Regions from separate parts of the Homo sapiens genome. Here regions 1, 2, 3, 4 and 6 are each linked to region 5. The links are contacts of gene promoters, found by promoter capture Hi-C in blood cells and fetal thymus (Javierre and others, 2016). All regions are on one chromosome and are shown on one strand. The core of a region is centred on a gene start or on the middle of the fragment in contact, and the rest is flanking DNA. Distances in the headings are between cores, read along the strand shown.

Evidence for each region. Contacts are between HindIII fragments. The CHiCAGO score rates a contact against its expected background, and 5 or more counts as called.
Region 1: a fragment that was not itself captured here is called in contact with the fragment with the promoter of TPPP2 in region 5 in 2 of 17 cell types (M2 macrophages and M1 macrophages); the score reaches 7.3 in M2 macrophages.
Region 2: a contact is called between a fragment that was not itself captured here and the fragment with the promoter of TPPP2 in region 5, in 1 of 17 cell types (monocytes). The highest score is 5.7, in monocytes.
Region 3: a fragment that was not itself captured here is called in contact with the fragment with the promoter of TPPP2 in region 5 in 2 of 17 cell types (monocytes and M2 macrophages); the score reaches 6.1 in monocytes.
Region 4: a fragment that was not itself captured here is called in contact with the fragment with the promoter of TPPP2 in region 5 in 2 of 17 cell types (M2 macrophages and monocytes); the score reaches 7.0 in M2 macrophages.
Region 6: a fragment that was not itself captured here is called in contact with the fragment with the promoter of TPPP2 in region 5 in 2 of 17 cell types (M1 macrophages and M0 macrophages); the score reaches 7.0 in M1 macrophages.

What each region holds. Positions count from the first base shown.
Region 1 is chr14:20,759,841-20,764,509 of GRCh38, forward strand. LOC107984671 (a long non-coding RNA gene) reads right to left here. Exons shown (of 3, transcript XR_001750624.2): 2 at 2,930-3,003. Among named protein-coding and RNA genes, the nearest start is that of EDDM3B, 6.2 kb to the right of the region's middle. The HindIII fragment of the contact is 5,387 bases long and covers 1-4,604 here.
Region 2 is chr14:20,523,002-20,527,381 of GRCh38, forward strand. It overlaps the pseudogene PTCD2P1. Among named protein-coding and RNA genes, the nearest start is that of RNASE10, 20 kb to the left of the region's middle. RefSeq lists a silencer at 4,133-4,343. The HindIII fragment of the contact is 9,274 bases long and covers 1-4,380 here.
Region 3 is chr14:20,636,003-20,640,408 of GRCh38, forward strand. No RefSeq gene overlaps it. Among named protein-coding and RNA genes, the nearest start is that of OR6S1, 3.5 kb to the right of the region's middle. The HindIII fragment of the contact is 1,027 bases long and covers 1,521-2,547 here.
Region 4 is chr14:20,616,016-20,620,542 of GRCh38, forward strand. It overlaps the pseudogene RPS26P9. Among named protein-coding and RNA genes, the nearest start is that of TRT-TGT3-1, 4.4 kb to the left of the region's middle. The HindIII fragment of the contact is 1,926 bases long and covers 704-2,629 here.
Region 5 is chr14:21,028,763-21,032,855 of GRCh38, forward strand. TPPP2 (tubulin polymerization promoting protein family member 2) reads left to right here and starts at 1,455. Exons shown (of 4, transcript NM_173846.5): 1 at 1,455-1,542; 2 at 1,751-1,992; 3 at 2,250-2,403; 4 at 3,130-4,053. The coding sequence starts at 1,820. The coding sequence ends at 3,315. It overlaps RNASE13 (ribonuclease A family member 13 (inactive)), which reads right to left. Exons shown (of 2, transcript NM_001012264.4): 2 at 4,056-4,093. It also overlaps a transcript of NDRG2 not described here. The HindIII fragment of the contact is 5,962 bases long and covers 1,261-4,093 here.
Region 6 is chr14:20,709,133-20,713,702 of GRCh38, forward strand. It overlaps LOC124903282 (a long non-coding RNA gene), which reads right to left. Exons shown (of 2, transcript XR_007064061.1): 1 at 3,949-4,570; 2 at 661-2,586. Among named protein-coding and RNA genes, the nearest start is that of EGILA, 4.5 kb to the left of the region's middle. The HindIII fragment of the contact is 2,470 bases long and covers 1,551-4,020 here.

The sequences.
Region 1 (4,669 bases), core at 661-3,160, 270 kb before region 5:
GAGGCTGAGGCAAGAGAATCACTTGAACCTGGGAGGCGGAGGTTGCAGTGAGCTGAGATCATGCCATTGCACTCCAGCCTGGGCAACAAGAGTGAAACTCTCTCAAAACAACAACAAAAAATTTGCCTGGCATGGTGGAACATGCCTGTAGTCCCAACTACTTGGGAGGTTGAGATGGGAGGGTCATGTGAGCCCAGGAGTTTGAAGCTGCAGTGAGCCATGATCACACCACTGTACTCCAGCCTGGGTGACAGAGCAACACCTTGTCTCAAAAAGCAAGAACAACCAGGCACGGTGCCTCACACCTGTAATCCCAGCACTTTGGGAGGCCAAGACAGGTAGATCACTGAAGGTCAGGAGTTCAAGACCAGCCTGGCCAACATGGTGAAACCTGTCTCTACTAAAAATACAAAAAATTAGCTGGGAGTGGTGACGTGTGCCTGTAATCCCAGCTACTCGGGAGGCTGAGACAGGAGAATCGCTTGAACCCAGGAGGCGGAGGTTGCAGTGAGCTGAGATTGCGCCACTGCACTCCAGCATGGGTGAAAGAGCGAGACTCCATCTCAAAACAAAACTTGATGGAGTCCTGCTATACTATGTAGATGACTTACTTATAGATAGCCTCAAGCAGGAAAAATGTTTGTCTAACACCATCCTAGTTCTAAACCACCTGGCCCAGGGTGGATACAAAGTGTCTGTTTACAAATCTGTAAACAAAAAGTAAACTTATCTCAGATTCAGGTTAAAGAAAGGCAAGAGGAGCCATCAAAGCTCCTGAAAATAGGAGACAACTTCAAGTATTCTTAGGCATGGCTGGCTTCTGTTGGATTTGGAGTTCTAGTTTTGGACTGATGACTAAGCCCCTTCATGAAACCCTAAAGGGATTAGACTCTGAGCCCCTGCCTTGGACGGCCAAGTGCCAACACAGATTTAATATCATCAAGGAAAAGCTAGTATCAGCCCCAGTGTTGGGATTGCCAGAATCCCAAAGGCCATTCAAACTCTACATTTATAAGAAACAAGGCATAGGTCAGTCTAGGTGTGCTAATCCAGAAGCTGAAGACACCCCACAGCCAATACACTATTTTTCTAAACAATTGAATCAAATGACTAAGGGTGGACCCTTGCCTTCAAGCATTGGCAGTCACTTGTGAAGTCCTACAGAAAGCAGAAAAGTTTACCCTGGGACAGCAGGTCACTCTCTTTGTGCCCCATCAGGTGTTGACTTTGCTAGAACAAAAGGGAGTTTACTGGCTCACTGTGGGGTGAATGGGGAAATACCAAGCCATCCTCTTGGATGACTCAGATATCACCTTGCAAACCTCCAGGCTCTAAACTCTTCCTCACTGCTCCCAGCTACTGAATCTGATTCCAGGTTAGAGTATTACATTTTAGAAATTGTTCATGCAGTCTATTCCAGCAGGCAGGACCTGTCAGACCAGCCATTGGATGCCCCAGATTGAGAACTGTAACCTAGGGGAGCAGTTTCATGGAAGATAGACAACACAGAGCTGGGTATGTCATGGTGACCACCAACAGGGTAATACAAGCCCATGCCCTTATCTCCACACAAAGGGCTGAGTTAATTGCTCTTACCAGAGCTTTAAACTGTCCCAGGGGAAGCAAGAAAACATTTACACTGATTCCAGCTACGCTTTCATGAAAGGACATGCTCATGGAGCCATCTGGGAAGAAAGAGGCCTCTTGACATCAGGAGACAAGGACATTAAGCACCCAGTGGAAATTCTGGCCTTATTAGAAGCAGTTGCCTTGCCTGCCCACACCTCCGTTATGCACTGCCCCGGACACAAGAAAGATAATTTGCAAACAACAGGTCAGGCGCAGGTGGCTCATGCCTGTAATCCCAGTATTTTGGAAGACTGAGGTGGGTGGATCACCTGAGGTCAGGAATTCGAGATGAGCCTGGCTAACATGGTGAAACCCCATCTCTACTAAAAAATACCAAAAAAATTATCCAGGCATGGTGGCGGGTGCCTGTAATCCCAACTACTCAGGAGGCTGAGGCAGGAGAATCACTTGAACCTGGGAGGCAGAGGTTGCAGTGAGCCAAGATCGAACCATTGAACTCCAGCCTGGGCGACAAGAGCAAAACTCTGTCTAAAAAAAAAATTTGCAAACAACCAAAGGCCATCAGGCAGCCAATAAGACTGCAAAACAGGCTGCTTGGGAAGCAAAAACACTGGAGGCCTTAATATCCCATTTGAACTTATCAGACTTCAAACCTCATTACACTGAACAACATAAAAAATGCACCAGGGCCTGGAGTTTGATAAAACAGATTCTAATTCTCTCTGGGAAACGAATGGTTACAGGATGATCTTACTCCCTGAGGCCTTAGTTTACCCAATTTTAAGCATCTGCACGAAGGGACACGCTATGGGAGAGAGGCTCTCGCTGACCTAGCGCATTACAAACGGTGGCTTCTCTTCAAAATAAAACAGACTGCTGGGTCTGTGGGAACTACTCCTTTCCTGCACTGCATGCTTGCCATGGTGCTTACAAGCCGCCAACCTGAGCAATTGGAGTCATTTATATACCTGGTATAGGAGTTCATACCCATTCCCCTTCTATGATCATAGCACCTCCCACAGTGGGTTCCCCTCCTACCAGGAAACTCAGAGACACCTTATTTGCCTATTCTATTAATAGATTAACAGTACCCCCACCTTGGGATATGCTGTATGTGATGGCATGGGATGTCTGACCGCAGTACAAATACAAGTAATGGGTCAAGCACACCATAGCCCACCATATGGGATGGTTACATCCTCAACAATGTAGCCAATCTCTCCAGCTAACTGATGGTATGTGGCTAGGATAGCAGAATAATGCCCATCTTCATACTGGGGCCCATCCCTCCACGTGGGGTTGGCTATGGGCCTGCGGCACTCATGGTTGCATTACTTACCTTATAATGGAACCAGGAGATGCAACTGGGGGCACCCTTACCGGGACATATCCTGTCCCATCTGGATCCTCTCCCTGCCAATTGGGAAAGCATAAAAGCCAGATATTGTCATCAGAAATGGACACCCTTGTGGTTTTACCCCCCAGGAGGCGGCCATAGATGTAAAATTACAAGTAGAGGCCGTAGCTAAGCATATGGCTGCTGCCTTTAATAACACTCACTCTGCCATCACCTTTCTCCCTGAAGAAACCTCACAGATTAGACAGCCTTAAAGAACTGTATGGCCTTAGATATCCTGCCTGCAGCCCAAGGTGGCACATGTGCATTAACTAAGACTGAGTCTTGCGTGTATGTGTGTGTGTGTGTGTGTGTATCAGATTATTCCCACAGTGTAACCCTAGCTATGAAGGCCTTAAATATTTCCACCATAGATGCCTCATCCTAAGGCCTTGTGATGGCACGCTTTAGTCAACTCCCTAGTGCATGGAAGACTTATACATCGCTTAATTGGCATTCTACTCAGTGTCTTCTTCAGCTGCTATGGATTTTATTGCTATTGTGCTGTCTGTATGGGGATGCAAGACAGACTTCTCAGCAGCTCTTAGTTCCCCACACCAAAATGCTCCAGCAAGTTCCCACTGTCAATCTGGGAATTCAAGAATATTTCCAACTCCAGGTAAGCAGATTCCATCCCATTACCTCCTAATTATGCCTCTTTTCAGCAGGAAGTAGCCAGATCGCCTGCATTGACCACTTCCCATAGAAATGGATGGGATTTGACAGTAGGGAGCTGTAACCAAGTAACTGAACTTCAAAAATGCATTTCAGGCCAGGCACGGTGCTCAGGCCTGTAATCCTTGCACTCTGGGAGGCCTACGCAGGTGGATCACCTGAGGTCAAGAGTTCAAGGCCCGCTTGACCAACATGTGAAACCTCATCTCTACTAAAAATACAAAAATTAGCCGGGCGTGGTGGCAGGGCACCTGTAATCCCAGCTACTTGGGAGGCTGAGGCAGGAGAATCACTTGAATCCAGGAGGTGGAGGTTGTAGTGAGCCAAGATCGTGCCACTGCACTCTAACCTGGGCAACAGAGCAAAAACTCGCCTCAAAAAAAAAAAAAAGAAAAAGAAAAAAAAGAAAGAAAGAAAATGCATTTTAAAACTTTTTTCTTTTTTTCTCTCTTTTTTTTAGTCTCAAGATATAACCTTGAAGCAAACTGCAGAAATTTTTTCCCCTCCTCAGTCTTAATATATAGCTTTGAAACATACCAAGAGTCTTTGTTCCCCCGCCATTTCCCACCGTACACTCCCTTACGTCACATACATTTATCTGACTGTAGGCTTGTATCTAAATATGTGCTTACTTAGAAGTTCTAGGGACTAATTTTGAGACAGATTACAGGCATGGAAACCCAGCTGCAAAATTCCAGAGATTACCTCAAAGCAGTTAGTCAACAACCCGGCCATTGTGGGGATGATGCCAGCCCATGCTCCAGGTGGACCATGACTCAAGATAGCCACCAGAACGAGACGCACGGACCTGTACCCAGCACCACTCCTTGCATGCCACCCACTGCAAGTTCCCTTTGTAAGCCCCTCTCCCCAGGCTAAAGTTTGAAATGGTTCCTTTAAGGCACAAGCCATGGCCACTTCTCCAGTGCTAGCTCTGGAATAAAGCTTCTTTCTTTTCACTGCATCTTGTCCTTGTTATTGGTTTTGCAAGCAGCCAAGCCTGCATTT
Region 2 (4,380 bases), core at 1,031-3,530, 500 kb before region 5:
CTGGAGTGCAGGGGTGTGATCATGGCTCACTGCTTTCAAACTCCTGGGCTCAAGCAATGCTCCTACCTCAACCTCCTGAGTAGCTGAGACTACAGGTGTGCATGACCATGCCCAGCTAATGTTTGTTCTTTTCTTTCTTTCTTTCTTTCTTTCTTTCTTTCTTTCTTTCTTTCTTTCTTTCTTTCTTTCTTTCTTTCTTCCTTCCTTCCTTTCTTTCTTTCTCTTTCTTTCTTCTTTCTTTCTTTTTCATTTTTTGTAGAGATAGTGTCTCACTATGTTGCACAGGCCGGTCTCTGAACTCCTGGGCTCAAGGGGTCCTCCTGCCTCGGCCTCCCAAAGTTCTGAGATTACAGGCATGAGCCACCATGCCCAGCCTCCCCATCATTATTTAGGCAGTTCCTTGCTTTTAGAAACTACAAGATGGTCCAAGCTCATTTTATATTTTCCTTCCCCTGGAACCAGTCATTTTTCTAAGATGACCTGGTTGTGTTTAGTGACGAACAGTATTTTGAAACCTGGATCTGGGTGCTAGGTAGGTGCTCATTGCTGTTGGGGTGAGAGAGCTCTAAGGCTGTCTCAGTGGACATAGGTGGGAATATGGCAAATAGCCAATCACACTCACACTCACATGTATTTGCATGTATTTTCTCTTTTTTCTTTCTTTCGTTTTTTTAATTTTTGCTTACAAACCTTTTTTATTTCTCTTATTTTTGAGAAAATCTGATCCTACTGAACTTTGCATGAAGATTTCAAATCTATATGCAAATACGCATAGGCATTATTGTTTTGCATATGGAAAAATGAGGGCTCAAGTCATAGAAATATATGATGGCAGATCAGTGAGGAAATCCTGGGCTATTTTCTAACATGATAGAATAGGGTTTCAGACCTCTTGAATTCAGCAAGGATGTAATTTACAAGTAACTACTCCCTTGAAAATCAGAGTGACCACACTTGTAGTGAAATTCATTCCTGTGGTGCTTGCTGGATTCCATTCTGGTGCTGGAAGCTGGACTGGAGACTGACCATGTTCCTTCAGGTATCCTCAGCAGTGTACAAGGGAAGCTCCTTTCTGAGGGAACCATGCTTGCATGTAGACCTTCACAGTAGTGCAACATAACTTCTCAGAGATCAACATGCCACCATTCAGTGAACTTGGGAATTTCAAGAGGAGGCTAAGTGTCAGCACAGCGTCTACTGAAGTGCAATGCCTGCTTCTTAGGGAAGGCAACAACTCACTAGAAGCAGGCCCTTCAGATCCACAGGTGGATGAAATGAGGATTATTACTCAGCCAAAAAGGACCGGTTGAGTGGCTGGAAGGTCCAATGGCTCATCATCCTCTTGTTTAATAGCAACATATGGGATTTCCTGTCCCTGGGGGTGTGGCAGAGCAGAGTACCCAAAGTACAAGTGGTGACCTGGCCACTGATGTGCAGTTTTCCATAGATCTCATTAAATCTGGCCACAAGGGCAGGCATATCCTTCACTTTTCCTTCACTTTTGCCAGCACTTCCTCTGAGAATGCATGTCTTTTCACAAATTTTAATAAATTTCCTTCTGCAGCATTTTTTTAGTGTCTCTATCAGGGTTTCCAACATATTTGACTGGATATGGATTATAATAGTTAAGTTAGTGCAGGCTATGCTTTCTGGATTCATGGTTTGAGAAAAAAATGGACATAGCTTTTGCCACTTGGTTCTGATTCAGAGCTAACGCCACAAAGAAACGGGATGCTCTCCTGGAGGGAACCTCTCCTTTGAGTGGGGCTTCTTCTGTTAATGCAGAACAGATTTTGAAAGACTCAGCGCTCTTCAGTTTGTTGCAAACTGCAAAACTAAGAACATAGGATATTTGGTGAATTTCACAGCTTGATTTTTCATCTCTATCAATACTTCCAAAGCACTTTTATATTTGCCTTTGATAAATAACATATCCATCAAAATATTGAATGATGTGGAATCTGAGAAGGAATCTCATAAATGCTGGTCTTTCATGAGCCCCTCAAGATCCAACCCATAACAGACTCATGAAAAGTGGTCCAAACCTATACTCCCCCAAAGTGATATTTCTGTTCCCTGCATGGTACCTGTAAATGACATTTGTAGCCAGCTCCACATGGTCCTGGGACCCACAAAAATAAAGTAAGGTTATCAACTCCCCCTTCAAGATGAGCTTGTCAGTTTCTCTTCCAAATTCCTAAAATAGGTTTCTTTAGGAAAGATTACATGCAACAGCCACCTTCTTGTGCTGAAATTCTTTTAATTTCACAATACTATCTGTAAGTAGGTATCTGTTAGCTCTGAAAGGACAGCAGCCACAGGCAAAGCTGGAGGCTCCCACCCCAGGATACACCGAAATCTGCAGCAACCTGCAGGAGAACTCGATTCGAGGGCCTAAGTGCAGCACATGTATTTTCTTTATGTAACATGTAAGTTCTCACATGTATTTTCTTTATGTAACTATATTGAAAACCATACGTTTATACCAATACCTCAATTCAAATCCAACCCCACAAGCTCATATTAGGTTTTCTCTTCCCATATTTATATCTTAATTTTCTTATTTATAACTTTTTGACTTATAAATTTCTTCTCCCATATTCTTTAATATAGTTGCTTATTGCATGCATCTTCATGTATGTAACCAATCTCACCTTGCTGCCGCCATTCCCCCTCCCATATGGATGCCCTTTGCCCACTCTGGCTCTGACACTCTGTGCCAGGGCTGCCCCTCTACATGGGTGTCCACCATTTGGGCCTGGATATCTCACACTAGGCAACCCCTCTGAGTGGACATCTCCTCCACTTGCTCAGGCTGTGATTCTGCAGGCTGTGTTCCCCTCTCAGCCCCCTCAGACATCCCTCACCAGGGACACCTTTTCATCTCTCTTGGGTTCTGAGTTCTTATTCCTGTGCCAGATGGCCCCTCCTCATCAATGTCTATGACCTTGTTCTGCCCCACCTGGTGGCTTTAGGACTAAATGGTTTAGAAAGGGAAGGTTAGGGAAAGAGGACTTATATCTTTTGAAAATTCTATTATATAATAGAATTTTCCATATTGTTGAGTAGTCATTAAAAAGTTTTACTCGATATATTTTATTCTATTAATGTAATGTGATTTATTTAAGTATTCCCTCTTTTGTCACATTAAGGTGATTTCCAATCGTAAGTAATTTGGGCTGGGCATGGTAGCTCATGCCTATAATCCAGCACTTTGGGAGGCTGAGGCAGGTGTATCATGAGGTCAGGAGTTCAAGACCAGCCTGGCCAACATGGTGACACCCTGTCTCTACTAAAAATACAAAAATTACCTGGGCATGGTGGTGGGCGCCTGTAATCCCAGCTACTTGGGAGCTGAGGCAGGAGAATTCCTTGAACCTGGGAGGCAGAGGTTGCAGTGAGCTGAGATCGTGCCACTGCACTCCAGCTTGGGTGACAGAGGAAGACTCCATCTCAAATAAATAAATAAATAATTTGCAGGCTGTTTTCCCTCAAACGAATTCCCTCTAATGGTGTCCTCTACTAGGAAAGGTGTCCTGTACTCACTAATCCATCAAAGGTCTATTGACTTTACAACATATTAAGGTTTAGCTCAACTCCACCTCCCTCCCCTCTTCCTAATATAGCTATATTTCAGTTCTCTTGTTTACCTTTCTAACTTAATACTATGCTAATCATTTTAGTATCTTTTTCAGATAGGCACTGGGTATTCTGAGTTCCTATTTTGTAAAATAAGAATATTAGTATCCTTCTTTTCATTCACTCTCTTTTCGTCTGTGTCCCAGCTTCAGTCAACTGTACTTTACTTTTACATTGCCTTGATTGTTAATATTAATATTTAATTCTGTAACCAAAATTAAGACTTAAGTTCATTGACTGTAAAAGCTGAAAATTGATACAAAATATTTATATTCTTTCTTTCTTTATTTATTTTTGAGACAGGGTTTCACTCTGTCATCCAGGCTGGAGTACAGTAGTGAGATCTCAGCTCACTGCAACCTCTACTTCCCCAGCTCAAGTGATCCTCTCACCTCATCCTCCCAAGTAGCTGGGACTATAGTCATGTGCCACCACTCCAGGCTATTTTTTGTATTTTTCTGTGGAGACATGGTTTCGCCATGTTGCCCACACTGGTCAAACTCCTGCGCTCAAGCGATCCTCCCCGCTCAGCCTCTCAAAGTGCTGGGATTACAGATGTGAGCCACTGTGCCCAACCTATATTATTTTATTTTTAGTTTTTAATTTTTTTGTGTACATATTTAGTCTTATTGTAACAAAGCAACTTGTGCACTTTTAACGTTTAAAACTGAGCATCATCTTTTCTTTCCAGTGAAACGAAAACAAAATTTAAAAATAAACAGGAACAAAATTACAATCGAG
Region 3 (4,406 bases), core at 784-3,283, 390 kb before region 5:
TACAAGTGGCCAATAAACATGAAAAAATACTCAACATCACTAATTATCAGGGAAATGCAAATTAAAACCACAGTGAGATACCACCTTGCTCCTGCAAGAATGGCCATAATTTAAAAATCAAAAAATAATAGATGTTGGGGTGGATGTGGTAAAAAAAGGAACATTTTGTACACTGCTGGTGGGAATGTAAACTAGTACAACCACTATGGAAAACAATATGGAGATTCCTTAAAGAACTGAAAGTAGAACTACCATTCAATCCACCAATCCCACGACTGAGTATCTACCCAAAGGAATAGAAGGCATTATATGAAAAAGACACTTGCATACACATGTTTATTTACAGCAGCACAATTTGCAAGTGCAAAAATATGGAAGCAACATAAATGTCCATCAACAAATGAGTGGATAAAGAAAATGTGCTATATTGGCCGGGCATGGTGACTCACGCCTGTAATTCCAGCACTTTGGGAGATGGAGGTGGGTGGATCACTTGAGGCCAGGAGTTAGAGACCAGCCTGGCCAACATGGTGAAACCCTGTCTCTACTAACCAGCTATGGTGGTGCATGCCTGTAATCCCAGCTACTCGCGAGGCTGAGGCAGGAGAATCATTTGAATCCAGGAGGCAGAGGTTACAGTGAGCCAAGAACGTGCCACTGCACTCCTGCCTGGGTGTCAGAGTGAGACTCCGGCTCAAAAAAACAAAAATAAAGTGGTACATATACACCATGGAATACTACTCAGCCATAAAAAGAAACAAAATAATGGCATTGGATGGAGTTGGAGACCATTATTGTAAGTGAAATAACTCAGGAATGGAAAACCAAATATTGTATGTTCTCACTTACAAGTGAGAGCTAAGCTATGAGGATGCAAAGGCATAAGGAGGAAATAATGGACTTTGGGAACTTGGGGAAATGGTGGGAGGGCACTAAAAGATAAAAGACTCCATATTGCCTACAGTATACACTGCTCGGGTGATGGGTGCACCAAAATCTCAGAAATCACCGCTAAAGAACTTCATGTAACCAAAAACTACCTGTTCCCCCAAAACAATTGAAATAAAATAAATAAATAACAAAGAACACATTGACTATTTCAAATAAGAGGACAAGATCAGTTGTGCCAAACTCTGCTGAGGTAAGTATAAAGAGTAACATATGCTTGCTGAGTTTAGCATCATTGTCATTATCAATGATGTCATTAAGAGCTTCATTTATTTATTTAATTTTTGAGACCAGGTCTCACCCTTTGGCCCAGGCTGGAGTGCAGTGATGCGATCTTGGCTGACTGTAGCCTCGAAATCCCAGGCTCAAACAATCCCCCTTGTTGGCTTCCCAGCATGCTGGGATTGTAGGCGTGAGCCACTGCACCTGGCCTTATTCAGAGTTTTATATGTAAAATGATGCAAACAGAAGCATTTTCTACTTCTTCTAAATTAAGTATATTCTGTCTTAACTGTATGTTTAAAAACAAAATACAAATTTCATGTCAATGAAGGTAAGATCTTTGAAAGGAAAGCTTAGAAATAAATATCAATAAACAGATTTTTATTTATTCTTTTATTTAATCACAAACTTTCATGGACACACAAGTTTGTATCACTGTTATATGCATGCACACATTCACATGCGCACTCAATCTACACATACCATCATACCAAAATTTCAGGCAAATTTATTTCATATAATAGTATGAATAAAGACGCTTGTCATGGTACCTTTATAGAAATTCGAAGCCAGGCGCGGTGGCTCACGCTTGTAATCCCAGCACTTTGGGGAGGGTGAGGCTAGCAGATCACCTGAGGTCGGGAGTTCCAGACCAGCCTGACCAACAAGGATAAACCCCGTCTCTGCTAAAAATACAAAATTAGCTGGGTGTGGTGGCACGTGCCTATAATCCCAGCTACTCGGGAGGCTGAGGCAGGAGAATCGCTTGAACCCGGGAGGCAGAGGTTGCAGTGAGCTGAGATCACGCCATTGGTTTCCAGCCCGGACAACAGAGTAAGACTCCATCTCAAAAACAGAAAAAAAATTATATATTTATATATTCATATGTATTATGTCTACCCCAAAAGTCTATGAATTCCTTGATGGCAGGGGCCAATATTTGTACCTCTAACATACCAACTTACTTCCTAGAACACAGTATTCAACAAATTTTATTGAATTAAATTGAGCCCAAAGTTATTTTTCACAATGAAACACATGTTGAAAATGGATGGTTTAACATGCTTTATTGCCATAATATGTGGCAATTACTTCAAGAAATGCTGTAAATTGTTGCATGAATTCCTTTCCTTGGCCAGTGGCTGGAATAGACTTCAGATTTTTATGTTTCATGAAACTAGGTAATTTTTAAGGCGATATTTCATCTCCTCTCTGGGCAACACTTCTAGATCACTCCAGAAGAGTTATTTTTACCTTCGAATCATTCTTTCCATTCCTTTAGTACTCAGAAATATTTTGGAATAAAATTATCTAGTGTGTTTGCATGCATTATGAATAGAACTAGATAAAAACATTTCTATTTTCCATGCCCACTGAAGCTTATGGCTAACTCTTTTGACGCTAATACGCACTTTGCCAGTTTTGCAGCACTATTTTGAGTTTAGTATGCTGTCGATACCTTGATATTTACATGTTTTGTACATCGTTCCTATGTACACACACTCTAACGTGACAAATCCTGTTTAATGAATGATGACCTCTGTGAAAATTTCTCTAACAAGAAAATGCACTGGGAAGAGTAAACCAATTTTTATAAGATCTCCAATGTCCTTTTGTAAATCTCCTTCTCATCCACATTTCCTTAAATTATTATCCGTCCCTTAGTTCTAAACTCTAAAGTTCAAGCTGCTTGAGGTTAGAAACAATTTATTCTTGTTCATCTTTGTATATATTCATATATCACAGTGTTCAACAAAGATTCTTCACAGACCTTTGCTGAATGAATGAATGAATAAATAAATAAATAAATAAATAAATAAATAAATAAATATTTGTTTCCAAGATTTCCAAAGGGATTTCCATGAATAGGAATCCCTTTTCAAATGTCCAATAAACTAGACAAAATTTACTACAAAGTTTGGTTCTTGGTAGATACAACAATATTTGGCATTTGGCATTCTTTTTTTTTTTTTTTTTAGATGGAGTTTTGCTCTTTCGCCCAGGCTGGAGTGAAGTGGCACGATCTTGGCTCGCTGCAAACCTCCGCCCCCTGGGTTCAGTGATTCTCCTGCCTCCTTATATAATGCCTCCTTATATAATGAAATTATATGAAATTACCCTTTTTGGTAGCTGGGATTAAAGGCGCCCGCCACCACGCCCGGCTAATTTTTGTGTTTTTGTAGAGGCGGGGTTTCGCCATGTTGGCCAGACTGGTCTAGGAACTCCTGACCTCAGGTGATCAGCCTGTCTCGGCCTTCCAAAGGGCTAGGATTACAGGCGTGAGCCACCGTGTCCAGCCTATGTGGCATTCTTAACTCTTTAATATTAAAGCTCCTTATTTTACTAAAAACAAAAGAAGATTTCACACAACAGATACAAGAATGTAAAAAGATGAACAAATGAATGAAACATAATCCAATGACAAAACGAGTGGAGATGTCTTTATCAATGTACTAAAGTGCACACTAGAAGAATACAGTAAATGCTATTACTCATGAAATCCCTCACTGATCTGCTTTCCCAACAGCACCTGGAATTACCACAGAGAAGTAATTAAGTCCCTTTATTAAATTTGCTTCACCTCTTTTTCCTCTAGCATTAAATGTAAATTTTTCTAACAAGCATGTACAAAAATATACAGATAATCTATTTTTATTTCATTTTATATCTATAAGGAATTTTTTCTTAAAATTCTTGACTTGCATAAACAGTTGGAAGGCTCTACTTAGACTTGCAATCAGTTTTTAGCTTTTGAGGAGAGTGCACGAATGGATTCAAATGTTGAATTAAAGCTACAGTCCCTCTTCTCAGACAAATGCATATATATTCAAGCACATAAAATTTAGATACCTATTGGGCATATAAATTTTCTGAAACCCATCCTTAGATTCCCTACATGACCATGGACCCATAGGTTAAGACTCACAGGTTGGAAGGTCTTAGGAAGTGGCGATGATATTGATCACGATATATCAATAATAATAATAAGTATTATTATTATTAGGTATGATCTAGGATCAAGAAATTTTGCCTGAAAGAGAAGAAGGTGGATTGATGACCTGAGAATTCATTAGTAGTTCCAGAATTCAGTCTTTTGGTGATATCCATAATGAAGACGGAAAGGAGCATGATAATGAGAATATTTGGATTTTAAAATATGATTTTTAAAAATGACAACAAGACCAGGTGTGGTGGCTCACACCTGTAATCCCAGCACTTCGGGAGGCTGAGGTGGG
Region 4 (4,527 bases), core at 417-2,916, 410 kb before region 5:
GTATTCCAAGGAGAGAAGCCAGGGCAACAACCATGGATCTGATGTTTCTGGTTTCTGCTAGACAGAGGCTGGCTTTGCGGAGAGGGTTCTCACTCCTCTATCAGTACAAATAAACCTTTGACCAATTGACCCTATCCACATTCAGCCCACTTCCTACCATCAAAGGTTGTCCCAGGACCTTATGTTACATTCTCATTCTTCCAGGCCCTTACTCCACAATTCACTCGAGTTGGCGTGTCTGACGCTACGAAACTCCAAAAGCCCCTTCTACTAGTTTATTAGACTTAGCATCAGCAAACCTGGTTGTGCTCCAGTGTGTTCTGGCCCATCCTGAGCACTTCCTCTGCTGAGCAACTTGACCCCTAGTTGTAATCTTAGCAATATTTTTAATTGCTTTTTTTGTTGTTTGTCTGTATTTCTTCCATTTCCCCTCAACTTTTCATTTGGAAAAACTTTAATCCTAATGTGGAAATAAATGAACACCAGTTAATGAGAACCAGCAAAAGCTATTCAGAGCTTTCTATAGCAAAGGAGTTAGCAGCCTTCACTTGTGATTTTTTAAAAATATAATTTCCATATTATTTTTCTCTAGAGAGAGTTTTTCTTCAATCCTTAAGGACTCACCTTCTTATATGGGCTTTGGTAGGGGTCATGTGGCAGCACCCATAGGTCTGAATCAGGGTGGCGGTGTTCGGTCCTTGCAAGCTTCACAAGATTAATTCCTGTCTACCTTGCTGTGAATGACACAACTCCCACCGTAACAGAATTTCACGAACAACTTGGGAAGCCCATAGGCGTCAAAGATACTAGCTTCAGAAATGTCCCTGACAGGTGCAGTCTCTACTACGTTTTGAATGATGAACTTCTTAATAGTCTTGCCTTTGGGTAGGCATAGGGCATAATTCATGTAGCAAATAGGCTGCACGTGGCTGTGGCCCTTTTTGGCATGACCATTGTTATTTCTTTTCTTTGCCATCTTGGAAGTGGGGACCCAAAAGAACGTCACTTGTGATTTGGCAGAGACTCAAAGGCAAGCAGAGGAGTGGGAAAACTTTATAGTGGACAAAGGGAAGCCTTCAAGTGTGCCCTGACTGGAGACTGTGGCATGGGGACACGGTGGGCAGGCTAACTAGAAGCGGGGCATCCTATGTGATTGGTTAGGGATGCATATTTGGCTTTCTCTGGTTGATGCTAACTTGGAAACAGAAACAAATAATAGGAAAGGTGTTAATTATTCATAAATTCCTAGCCACTGGGTCTGGTTTTTACAGAGGTTATTGTTTGGCTTCCTGGGCTGGTTGCTTAGAGATAGTGGTCTGACTTCCTAAAAGTCTGGCTTAAAGGCAATGGACTGGCCGGGCGCTGTGGTTCACGCCTGTAATCCCAGCACTCTGGGAGGCTGAGGCAGGCGGATCACCTGAGGGTCAGGAGTTCGAGACCAGCGTGACCAAAATGGTGAAACCCTGTCTCTACTAAAAATACAAAATTAGCCTGGCGTGGTGGTGCATACCTGTAATCCCAGCTACTCAGGAGGCTGAGGCAAGAGGATTGCTTGAACCCAGGAGGCAGAGATAGCCAGTGATAGGCGGTGAGCCAAGATAGTGCCATTGCACTCCAGCCTGGGCAACAAGAGTGAAAATCCGTCTCAAAAAAATAAATAAATAAAAGAGAGAGAGAGATAATGGGCTGGCTTCCTGTGCTGGTCACTGTGGGTTGACTTCCTGCACTGGCTGTTGTAGGTTAGTGCTGGTCAGAGGTCTATTTTTATATATGTTCTGGCCACTGTCTGTTTGTATAGTAATACCCTAGGGAAAAGTTAAAAAAACGGTACGGTAAAACCTGTATACCCTTTAACTAGAACACCCATTATTAGGAACATTTGCATCCTTCTTACCTACCCTTCCCCCTGTTTACATGTACTATCCAAGAGCAGAATATTAGTACCATAACACACCCAAGAAAATTTATAATTCCTTATATGCTAGTAGACATACAGTCCATATTCAGATTTCCCCACTTACCCACTCCCTATTAAAATAATGTAAATTCTAACAATATATCTCACTGCATTTAGTTGTAACATCTCTTTGGTCTCTTTTAATCTAGAAAATTCCCCTCCTCTTAGACTTTCTTTTCTCATGGCAGTTGTCTTACAGGAAGTCTCACATTCTGAATGTGATTATTTCCTCATATAAGATTCAGTTCAATATTTACTTATTTCCTCATGATTAGATTCAGCTTAAATATTTTTGTCAAGGACCCTACTACTAATTTTCCAGGATAGATTGTCTAGGGTCTAGGTAGGACTGAATTTCTAGTAAACCAAGCAGGAAGAATGAAGTCTAATGACTGATACTTATTTACATGACAGTGCACTATTTCAAGGAGCTTCTGTTCAGAAAAGGAAACTATTATGTCATCCTTTGGGGAAGACTTTGTAATTTTCAGCTTCATTGGCTATAGAATATTTTTAAAGGTCAGGAATTTATATCCCAGAAAAGTAGGCACAATTACCAGGACTCAACCAATTATTCACTGTAACAACATCCACGAACACCTATGACAGGCATACTGGTTTCCAAGATACATAGACTGTTTATCTCAGACATCAAGGAACGTGAGTTTGCAAAGCTTTAGCCACACACACACACACACACACACACACACACGTACTTGCCTCGATTTGTACTTTCTCAAAGTTTTCTTCAGATTTCCACAGACATCTTACCTTCTGGAAACTGAGGCTACACTCACTCTGGTGATTATCAGTTACCACTTGTATTGCCATCTAACTGTAGTGTGTGTCTCTGTGTGTTTGTTCATTCTTCTAGGTTTGTATTGTATATATTGTAAAAGGTGGAGAAGATATTTTCTTTTATTCAAATTCAAGTTCCCAATGAGCAAGGATAATATTCTTGTTTGTCTTCTGCTCCTCCCCAAACCTGATCAAATGATAAGCACAGATTTATTTGGTGGATGTGAAGTGGGCAAGATTCTATTTCCGAGACCCAAAAGGCTTCCTGGCACATGCACCCCACTGGCTTGCCTCAAATGTTTAAACCCATTATAAACACTCCTGTGTGTTCACTGAGAAGCTGACTGTGTTTTGAGCACTTGGTACACTATGGAATTAAAGTCAGGGACTAGGAAAAGCAGTAGAGGGAAATCAAAGAAGAAATTAAATTGTACATCAGACACGATCTTTTTAAACCCAAAGCACCAAGACTATTACAATATTTATGGGGACTGAGTAGGTGAAGGAGGACAATGATACCAGAAGGATGGACAGAAACAAAGAATAAAAAATGCCTCATATCCTTCCCCTTTCCATTCCTGTTGATCATACCATAGTTCAAAGATTGCATTTCTTTTCACCTGAAGCTTGCAGAGGTGATTGATTTCACTGGATTACTCCATGAAATCCCTCTGGTCCCATCTCTCCAATGAAGTTCAGTGAAAAGTGTAAAGACAAATACAAACTAGAAATAAGGGGCTTAAATCTCCCTGCTGAGTATAAGGAAATTTCCCTTCCCTCTTTTTACTTTGAGCATTTACTTTTGAAAACTTTTTTTTTTTTTTGAGACAGTCTTGCTCTGTCGCCCAGGCTGGAGTGCGGTGGTGTGATCTCAGCTCACTGCAACCTCTGCCTCGCGGGTTCAAGCGATTCTCCTGCCTCAGCCTCCCAAGTAGCTGGGATTACAGGTGTGTGCCACCACGCCTGGCTAAATTTTTTTGTATTTTTAGTAGAGACAGGTTTCACCATGTTGGTCAGGCTGGTCTCGAACTCCTGACCTCATGATTCGCCCTCCTCAGCCTCCCAAAGCGCTGGGATTACAGGCGTGAGCCACTGCATAGAAAACTTCTAAGTACAATCACAGTACTTTGCTTTACTGTGATGGTCAATGTGATAACCATATGAAACCATATCAGAGCTAAGTAAGTCGGGTTCAATAAATGCTGAAAGCATTGACTATCTGATGGAGTCATCAAAAATATTATTTAATTTAAATATAGTATTTAATTTTGAGCAAGATTTTACAGCACATAGAGGGGTCCTCAGGCCAATAGGGGGATGGCTTTTTTTTTTTTTTTTTTTTTTGAGACAGAGTTTCACTCTTATTGTCCAAGCTGGAGTGCAATGGCACGATCTCAGCTCACCACAACCTCCGCCTCCCAGGTTCAAGCAATGCTCCTGCCTCAGCCTCCCAAGTAGCTGAGATTACAGGCGCACAACACCACGCCCGGCTAATTTTTGTATGTTTAGTAGAGACGGGGTTTCACCATGTTGGTTAGGCTGGTCTTGAACTCCTGACCTCGTGATCCGCCCGCCTAGGCCTCCCAAAGTGCTGGGATTACAGGCATGAGCCACCATGCCCAGACTGGGGCATGGCTCTCTATTGGAGCTAGGAACAGAGCTTTACATTGCAATGTAGTGCGTGTCTTCTGCTGCAGACTGATCCAGAAAGATTCTGGTGGGAATTTTCAGATGCTCTAAATGAACATAGAACATCTGATACAGAAGTTGGT
Region 5 (4,093 bases), core at 205-2,704:
TCATTTAGAAACCAGAGTAGTCATCCAACTATGAGATGATAAGAACTTGAATAAGGGTGGAAGCAATAGGAATGGAAAGAAAGGCATAGATTTGTAAGACAAAGAAAAAAAATAGAAAGTGGTGGCATTATTAGATGGGAAAAGGAGGAAAGTCACCAGTCTCGTTGCTCTGTTTTAGGATCCGTGAGGTTCATCTATCTGTAGTGCTTCTGGCCAGAGAAAAGGCCGAAGAGAGAAAACCCTGAGGAACATCTTTGACCTGCATAGAAACTTATCTGAAGATTTTCAGAATCTGAGCCTCACCCTCAGTCTATCCCAGTTTTATCCTGACCTGTCCACATCTGTTATACTCCAAGGCTTGCTGGGCCCAACACTGGAAGCTATTTAATGTTTCTATTGCGACTGGCCTTTTAAAGCCAGTGGGATTCTCCATGCTACACTTGAGCCTGGAGACTAGAAAACATGACAGCCTGTTTTCATTAATCCGTTTTCATTAACTGCTGTGGTCTGAATGTTTATGTTGTCCACAGATTCATATATTAAAATCCTAACTCCCGGCTGGACGCAGTGGGTCACACCTGTAATCCCAGCACTTTGGGAGGCTGAGGCAGGTGGATCACTTGAGGTCAGGAGTTCGAAACCAGCCTGGCCAACATGGCAAAACCCCGTCTCTACTAAAAATGCAAAAATTAGCCAGGCATAGTGGCTGGGCTAATCCCAGCTACTGGGGAGGCTGAGGCATGAGAGTCGCTTGAATCCTGGGACTGGAGGTTGCAGTGCCCCAGGATCATGCCACTGCATTTCAGCCTGGGCAACAGACAGCGAGACTCCATCTCAAAATAAATACGCAAATAAATAAAATAAAATCCTAACTCCCAAAGTCATGGTATTAGGAGATGGGGCATTTTGGGGGGTGATTAAGTTTTATGAGGGCAGAGCCTTTCTGAATGGGATTCATACCCTTATAAATAGGCCCAAGGGAACTCATTCACCCCTTCTACCATGTGAGGACACAGCAAGAAGGTGCCATCTATGGACCGGAAAGCAGCCCTCACCAAACACTGAATCTGCCAGCACCTTGATCTTAGACTTCTCAGCCTTCAGAGCTCTGAGAAATAAATGTCTGTTGTTTATAAGCCACCCAGTTTGATATTTTGTTCTAGCAGCCCAAACAGACTACAACACCTTCCCTGGGCTCGCCTCAGCTTCTGTTGTGGGGCAGAGCATAAGGCAATTTGACTAGGACCCAGAGGATGGGTAAGCTTGGCTGAAATGATGGAAATGTGATCATCTGAAAAGGTCAGAAAGTTGGCAGTTTGCTCAATTCGGCATGCAAGGTAGGGAGACCAAAAGCCCCCTCCTTTGAAGGCAATGGCTGTAGCTGGGGCCAGAAGTGATGTCACATAACCACTGCTGAGGTCATAGAATCTTCCCTCTCCTCCCTCTGTCTCCTCATTGCCACAGCCAACCGGCTCCCACATATCTGCACACACTTAAATACAAAGGCCGGGAAGGGTCAGACCACCATCCGGGTACTCTAAGGTACATAAAAGAGGTAGGGGAAAGAGAGGATCATTCAGTAGGTAGGATCCACACTGGTATCTCCAATGCTGGGAATGGGAGACTCATGCTGTAGTTGCGTAGGTGCAATGGGAGCTGGGAGGGAGAAAGGAGAGAGCAACAGGGAAGAGGGGAGCTGTTCCTGTTGCTGACTGATTTTACCATAACACTCATCCTCATTACTCCACAGTCCTCCCTCCCCCTTCTCCTTCACCCCCAAGTGTCTCCCACGACTGCCCTCCCCGACCTCTAGCTGACCATGGCATCAGAGGCAGAAAAAACATTCCATCGGTTTGCTGCGTTTGGAGAATCATCAAGCAGTGGCACTGAAATGAACAACAAGAACTTCTCCAAGCTGTGCAAAGACTGTGGCATCATGGATGGCAAGACAGTCACCTCCACGGACGTGGACATCGTGTTCAGCAAAGTCAAGTGAGGAGCCAAAAATATGGAGGTGGGGGTGAGAAGAACCTGCGAGGTAGTTGGCCACGGAAGGGTTCACGTGGTGGAACATTTGCAGTGGGCCTACCAAGCACCACAGGGTACCTGGCGCTGTGCTATCCTTTGTCTTCGAGACACTCACTGATTGATAGGACAAAAGAGGCCAAATCTGAGTGAGGCAAGAGTTGGACCTTGGAAGGTAATGCATTCATGCTCCAAAGTTTCTGGATTTCTGTCTAACTGACCAGGGCCAAGAACGCCCGAACCATCACGTTTCAACAGTTCAAAGAGGCAGTGAAGGAACTGGGCCAGAAGCGCTTCAAAGGGAAGAGTCCAGATGAAGTCCTGGAGAACATTTATGGACTCATGGAGGGCAAAGACCCAGCCACCACTGGCGCTACTGTGAGTGACAGCCTTCATCCCCTTGACCCTACTTCCCTAAATCCCCATTGTTCCAGTCTACCCTCCCTAACCCTGCCAACTGTGTGACTGTAGAGACAGGGCCGAAACAGACTTTAGAGATCATCTAGACATTCCAGAAGTCAGGAAAATGTGGCCCAGAGAAGGGAAGTGACTTGCCCAAGGTCCATGGCTATTTTAATAGTAGATTTAGACTAATTTCCAAGTGTCTAGTATCTGAGCCAGGCAATTAGGGCTTGGTAGCTTTTGGAGGACATTAGTGTAGAGAATTTGGTACCTGATGCCCACTCCTCTTCCAATTCTTATTTAGGGTTTAATCTCAGGCCTCCTGCCTCTCACCTACTCCCTTTTTTAATTGTCCTGTCTGAACTAAAAGCTCTTTCTACAGTGGATATTGAGTCGGGGAGTGGGAGTGAAGTCCTCAGGCAGCAGCCTAGTCAGAATAACTCCTCTGGAAACAAAAAACCTACCCTCCCTCTGCACACGCCACACTCATTCCCACACCACACTCCTCCTCCCCCATGAGTGAACGGCTCTTACCAGAGTACCTGCCCACAGCTGTATCTGGGCCCTAAGAAAGCAGCACCCCATGCCAGTGGCAGAGCAAGAGCTCCAAGCACTTGTTCTAAGTATCTCGGGCCATCTTTGGGGAAGGGATATGACAGCGTAAGGAAAGGAAGAGAGCTCAAATCCATCCCTGGCTTGCAGAAAGCAACAACAGTGGGTGCAGTGGACCGTTTGACAGACACCAGCAAGTACACCGGCACCCACAAGGAGCGCTTTGATGAGAGTGGCAAGGGCAAGGGCATTGCGGGACGGGAAGAGATGACTGACAACACAGGCTATGTGAGTGGTTACAAGGGTTCTGGCACCTACGATAAGAAGACCAAGTAGAGAGGAGCTTCATCTCAGCCTGCTAGCCCCCTGACCCTGCATGTTTAACACCAGGGAGCTTGGAAAACAATAAACATCTGTGTGTGCAGCAGCCAAAATCTCTGTCTGTGAGGGACAGATGAGCCTACTAGTGTAGAGAGAGGGAGAAGAGGCAGCACAGGAGGGTGGGTTCTCCACCACACACCCTTCGCTCTGCTTAGCCTTATGCCTACCAGCCATCAGTTAGCATTCCTCCTCAACAGCTGCTTCCAAGAACAGGATGGAAGAATATATTTGGAGTAAAGAGATGAACCAGATGTGGAGGTAAAAGTATCTACTACTTGTGTTCACACATTACTGATATCCACCTCTCCACCCCCACCCCTCAAAAGGGTGTAGCAATTCCTCACGTGATGGACTATGACTATATCACATATTAGATCCTTCCCTGTCCCTCCACCTTCCTCATCTGTTGCAATTCAGGTTTTTTGGGTGGAGGAGTAGAAGCCAGCTAAGGTTGCCTGACTTCTATTACAAATTTGTTCCAGAGCTGGGGTAAGGGGAGAGTCTATTTTCAACACCCAGCCCAGAACTAAGTTTTACCCCACATCACCTCCATCATGGGGCACATGGGACAGAAGAGCTTACTGACTGCTAAGGGTAGCTCAGGAAGATGGCCAGATGAGGCAGGCTGCCAGGATTCCAAGAGCAGGAGTTCTGGTGCACTGAAGAAAAAGCAATTAAATCACAACAGAGTCAGATGTGTGTTATTAACTTTTTATTTTGAATTGATTATGGG
Region 6 (4,570 bases), core at 1,536-4,035, 320 kb before region 5:
TTGAGTTCCACTGGGGACCAGCCACCAAATTTTGGGTCTGTGTCCAATCAGTGGTAAACAGGTTTGTCTAATATAGCACTAAAGAATGTTCATATTGATGTAGAGGCATCCTATCCACATTTTTAGTAACATTCGGCCAATGATTCTAAGAGTGATTCCTTTGTTCCCAACATGAAGTGGCAATTTGGGTTAAGTGACTAATAGTGGAGATCATCCAGAGGTAATCGTCCCAAATTTGATAAAAACTCACCTACCGTGTAATGGTTATTAGTAGCCAAAATCTTGGGGGCCATCTAGGAAAACTCCTTTAAGAGAGGGATTGCATACTCAGAGGTCCTTTGGATAGTCCGGTTATAATGAAGAGTTTTCCAGGATCTGGATTCTGAAGCGTTATATTAATGCCAGGCCATTTTTAAAAAATATTACCTTAAGTTACCAAGGTCCTGATTTTCCCATGAACAGTTTTTCATATACGTTTGTAAATGTATCTAATCAGTCCCCTGCAGGGGTGATACTCACTAAAGTAGCCCAGAAGTGCTAGAGATGGGTAGCAATCCACATACCCAGCAAGCATCTTAGTGTAGACTATCTGCATAATGTTATGCCCACTGTAGAAATAGACTAGTTTTAGCAGATGTCAAAAAAGTTTACTCATTATGATAAAGAATAACAGAAATTTAATCCTATAGTACAAAAAGATTTTTCTTAAGCAGTAGCTTCAGTTCTCCAGTTGGCTCACAAGTCCAACCAGGTTGATTGTCTGCTGTGTCAGGTTGGGGAGGGGCGATTTTTACCGAAATGTGATGTATGCGTGGTTTGACTCCAGCCAGCTTAACAGATGAATGAGTAGTTAATAAAACATCATAATGACCTGTCCACTTTTTGGCTGGCTGTTGTTGGTCCAGTCCTTGTTTTTACCAAGATTTTAGCGGCACTTTATCCTTGGATGAAAAGGGTGAAGGGGCTTTTTTGTAAGACACATAAAACTGGAAAGAACAAAAAGAACAAACTTGTGCAGGGTTAGTGATTTATGTCTTAGTTGTTGTACATATTGTTTAATTCTTGATTAATTTATTAAGTCCAAGGGTGGGGTCCCTGGCCAAGAACTTCAGAAGGGTCTCCCACACACAATTTCAAAAAGGCTTAATTTAAGCCCACTTCAGGGTGCTACCCCAATCCATAGCAGGGCAATAGGTAAAACCCTTTACCATTTTAAATCTGTTTCCCGATAGAGTTTTGCCAGGGGTTTTTTTTGGTTTTTTTGTTTGTTTGTTTTGTTTTGTTTTTGTTTTTGTTTTTGTTTTTTAGCATGTGGATCATCTTTTCAGTCTTTCCAGTTGATTGTGGCCTCCAACAAGAGTGTCATTTCCATTTGATCTGTAATGCTTGGCTTATCCTTTGTGTGATCTCAGAAATTAAAGAAGGATTATTGTTGCTTGGTATGGAGTAAGGAAGTCCAAATCGAGGAATGATTTCTTTTAGCAGAGCCTTAGCTACTTCTGCAGCTTTCTCAGACTTGTTCGGATAGGCTTCAATCTCTTGCTCGGGTAAGCTTCAACCTTTCCAGAAAATGTGTCTACAAACACTAGTAGGTACTTATAAATCCCAGTGTTTTTGGCATCTGGGTGAAATCAACCTGCCAGTCCTCGAATGGTCATATTCCTTTGTATTGTATCCTCCTCTGGGAAGAGTTGCATGCAGTTCTTGAATCATTTGGGGTATATAGATAACATGCTTGTATAATCTTTTGAATGATCTTTTGAAGGTGTGGCCCTTTGAGATATGGCTACACCAGGTGAGCCAGTCCATCTCTGCCATAGTGTGTCCCCTCATGCAGGTCTTTCAGGACTGGGTATACCAGGGCCTCAGAGAGTAATATCCCATGAGTGTTAGCTTTCCATGAGGAACAAGGGTCTGTGTTGGTCAATGTCCACTCATGTGTGCATTCTTCATTTCATTCAGTGTAGTGGAGTTTAAATTCTGACAAGTTTAAATGGAGTATTAAGGTCCCAAGTAAATATGTTTCTTGAGTGGCCTGCTTTGCAGCTTTATCAGCCACTTGATTCCCTTTGGTTATTGGGGAGTCATCCTTTTGGTGGCCTTGGCAGTGCATAATAGCAACTTGAGTTGGCAGAACAACTGCCTCTGACAAAGCTAAAATTTCCAGCAGGTGTTTAATGTCTTTATTTCTTGAGGTTAAGAATCCCCTTTCTTTCTGAATGACCCCACGGGCATACACTACCAAGAAGGCATACTTGGAGTAGGTGTAAATGTTTACCCATTTCTCTTGAGACTGTTTTAAGGCCCTGATGAGAGCAATCCATTCAGCTTTTTGTGCTGAAGTACCAGCAGCGGGGACATAGGCTTCTACTACTTTGTCTAGGGTCACTGGAGCATACCTGGCCTGGCGTTGTCCTCCTTCTGTGAAACTGCTTCAGTCAGTGTATAGCTCCCAGTCCGGAGTGGCCATCAGATGATCTGACAGATCTGGTCTGCTGGAATAGACTGCATCAAGAATTTCTAAACAATTATGCTCCAGTTCATAGTTGGACTCAGTGGCTGGGAGCAAGGTGGCAGGATTCAAGACTGTGGTGGTTTGGAGAAAACATTTCTGTTATCTAATAGGCTGGCTTGGTATTTGCCCATATGCCCCGCTATCATCCAGTAACCTCCCTTTTGTTACAATAAGGTTAACACTTGATAAGGCACAAATGCAGTAATGGGCTGTCCTAGGGTGAATTTTTCTGCTTCCTGTAAGATATCACACGTAGCTGCCACGGCCTGAAGACAAGGTGGCCATCCTCTGGTAATCTGCTCCAGTTGTTTGGGAAAGTAGGCTATGGGTTGTGGGGAATTCCCACGTAGTTGAATTAGTATTTCCTGTCCTGTGCCCTGGTTTTCATGGATATAGAGTCTAAATAGCTTTCAAGAATTGGGCAGTCCTAATGCTGGAGCTGACACTATTTTTTTTTTTTTTTTTGATGGTATCAAATGCCTGAAGGCATTCAGCCATCCAGTTTAGGGCTCCTGAATCTAATCCCTTTAGAGCCTTGTAGAGAGGTTTGACTATGAGTCCAAAATTAGGGATTCAGATTCAGCAGAAACCTGCCACACCTAAAACCCCCCACAGTGTCTTCCATTCCCAGGGGCCTTTATTGCTGCTATCACCTGTTTCTGGTTGGACATCAAGCTCTGCTTTCCTTGTTTTTAGTCAGAAGCCAAGATAGGTCACTTCTTGTTTACAAATCTGAGTTTTCTGAGGTGATATGTTACGTCCGTATTATATCAAATAATTTAAGATTAAGATAGTGTTAGATAGGCACCTCTCATAGTCTTGGCTTGCGATTAACAAGTCATCCAAGTATTTTAGCAGAACCCCATCATCTAGTTGAAAATCTCTGAAGCCCTTTGCCAATATTTTGCCAAAGATGGTGGGTGAGTTTTTAAAACCTTAAGAAAATACAGCCTAACAATATTGGAAGGTGTTTTTTGTTTCCAGGTCTTGCCACTCAAAGGTGAACAGCATCTGGTCCCTCTCTTCAATCAGGATGCAAAAAAAAAAAAAAAAAAAAAAGTATCTTTTAAGTCTAATACCGAAAACTACCCATACTGCCCTGGTTTATCAGTTAGTAAGGTGTAAAGGATGGGCATAGTTGGGTGAATGTCTTGAACAATGTCATTAATGGTTCCCAAATCTTGTACAAATCAATATTCATTTGAGTGTGGGTTTTTAACAGTCAGGATAGGGGCATTGTATGGAGATCTGTAAGGACATATTTGTCCATTTTTTAGAAACTTCTGTAATATAGGTTGTATCCCCTCTAAAGCCTCTCTTTTTAGAGGGCACTGTGTTTGGGGAATACCTTAGCCCCTTCATTTATTTCTGTGCACACAGGCTGTGTATTTTCAGCACTACCTGTGGTCCCATCTGCCCTCATGACTACTTACTTGCTCACAGATTGCTGGCAGGAGGCATTCTTTTTCTTCCTCGGGGTGTGTGAGCAGCATCTGCAGCTGCAAAGCTTGCTCTGGCAGGACCTGCAGATGAAGTTGTTGTTTTTCTGGAGAAAAACGTCACATGGCAATTTAGTTTACAAAGCAAATCTCACTCCAGCAAAGGAATTTGGTATTCCAGCATATAGAGGAAACTGTGTCTCAGCTCCAGATCTCTGTGTCCGGCAGTCTCCAGACTCTCCAGGGTCTGGAGAAAGGCTGTTTGCTGCATCTTGCCAGCGACAACCATCACAGGCACTGTTTTCCTAGTACTTTCAGTTTCTTTAGTGTTTCTACCTGAATAAGTCACACCAGTATTGATTAAAAAGTCAATCAATTTGTTCCCCATTGTCAATCGTACCTGAGGTTCCTGTGGGGAAATTACAACCTGCTCCAAAAGATTTGGGCCTCCTTCACTATCTGAGCTACAGTCCTGCTTTACCATCAGCCAGTATGTTTCTTCTCTGTCACTGTGTCTCCCTTCTTCTGGTTTCCCTGTCTTTTCTTTAATTTGGGGCACTCAGATTTCCAATGACCTTCCTCCTTGCAGGGGGCAGACTGATCATTACCTAGAGTT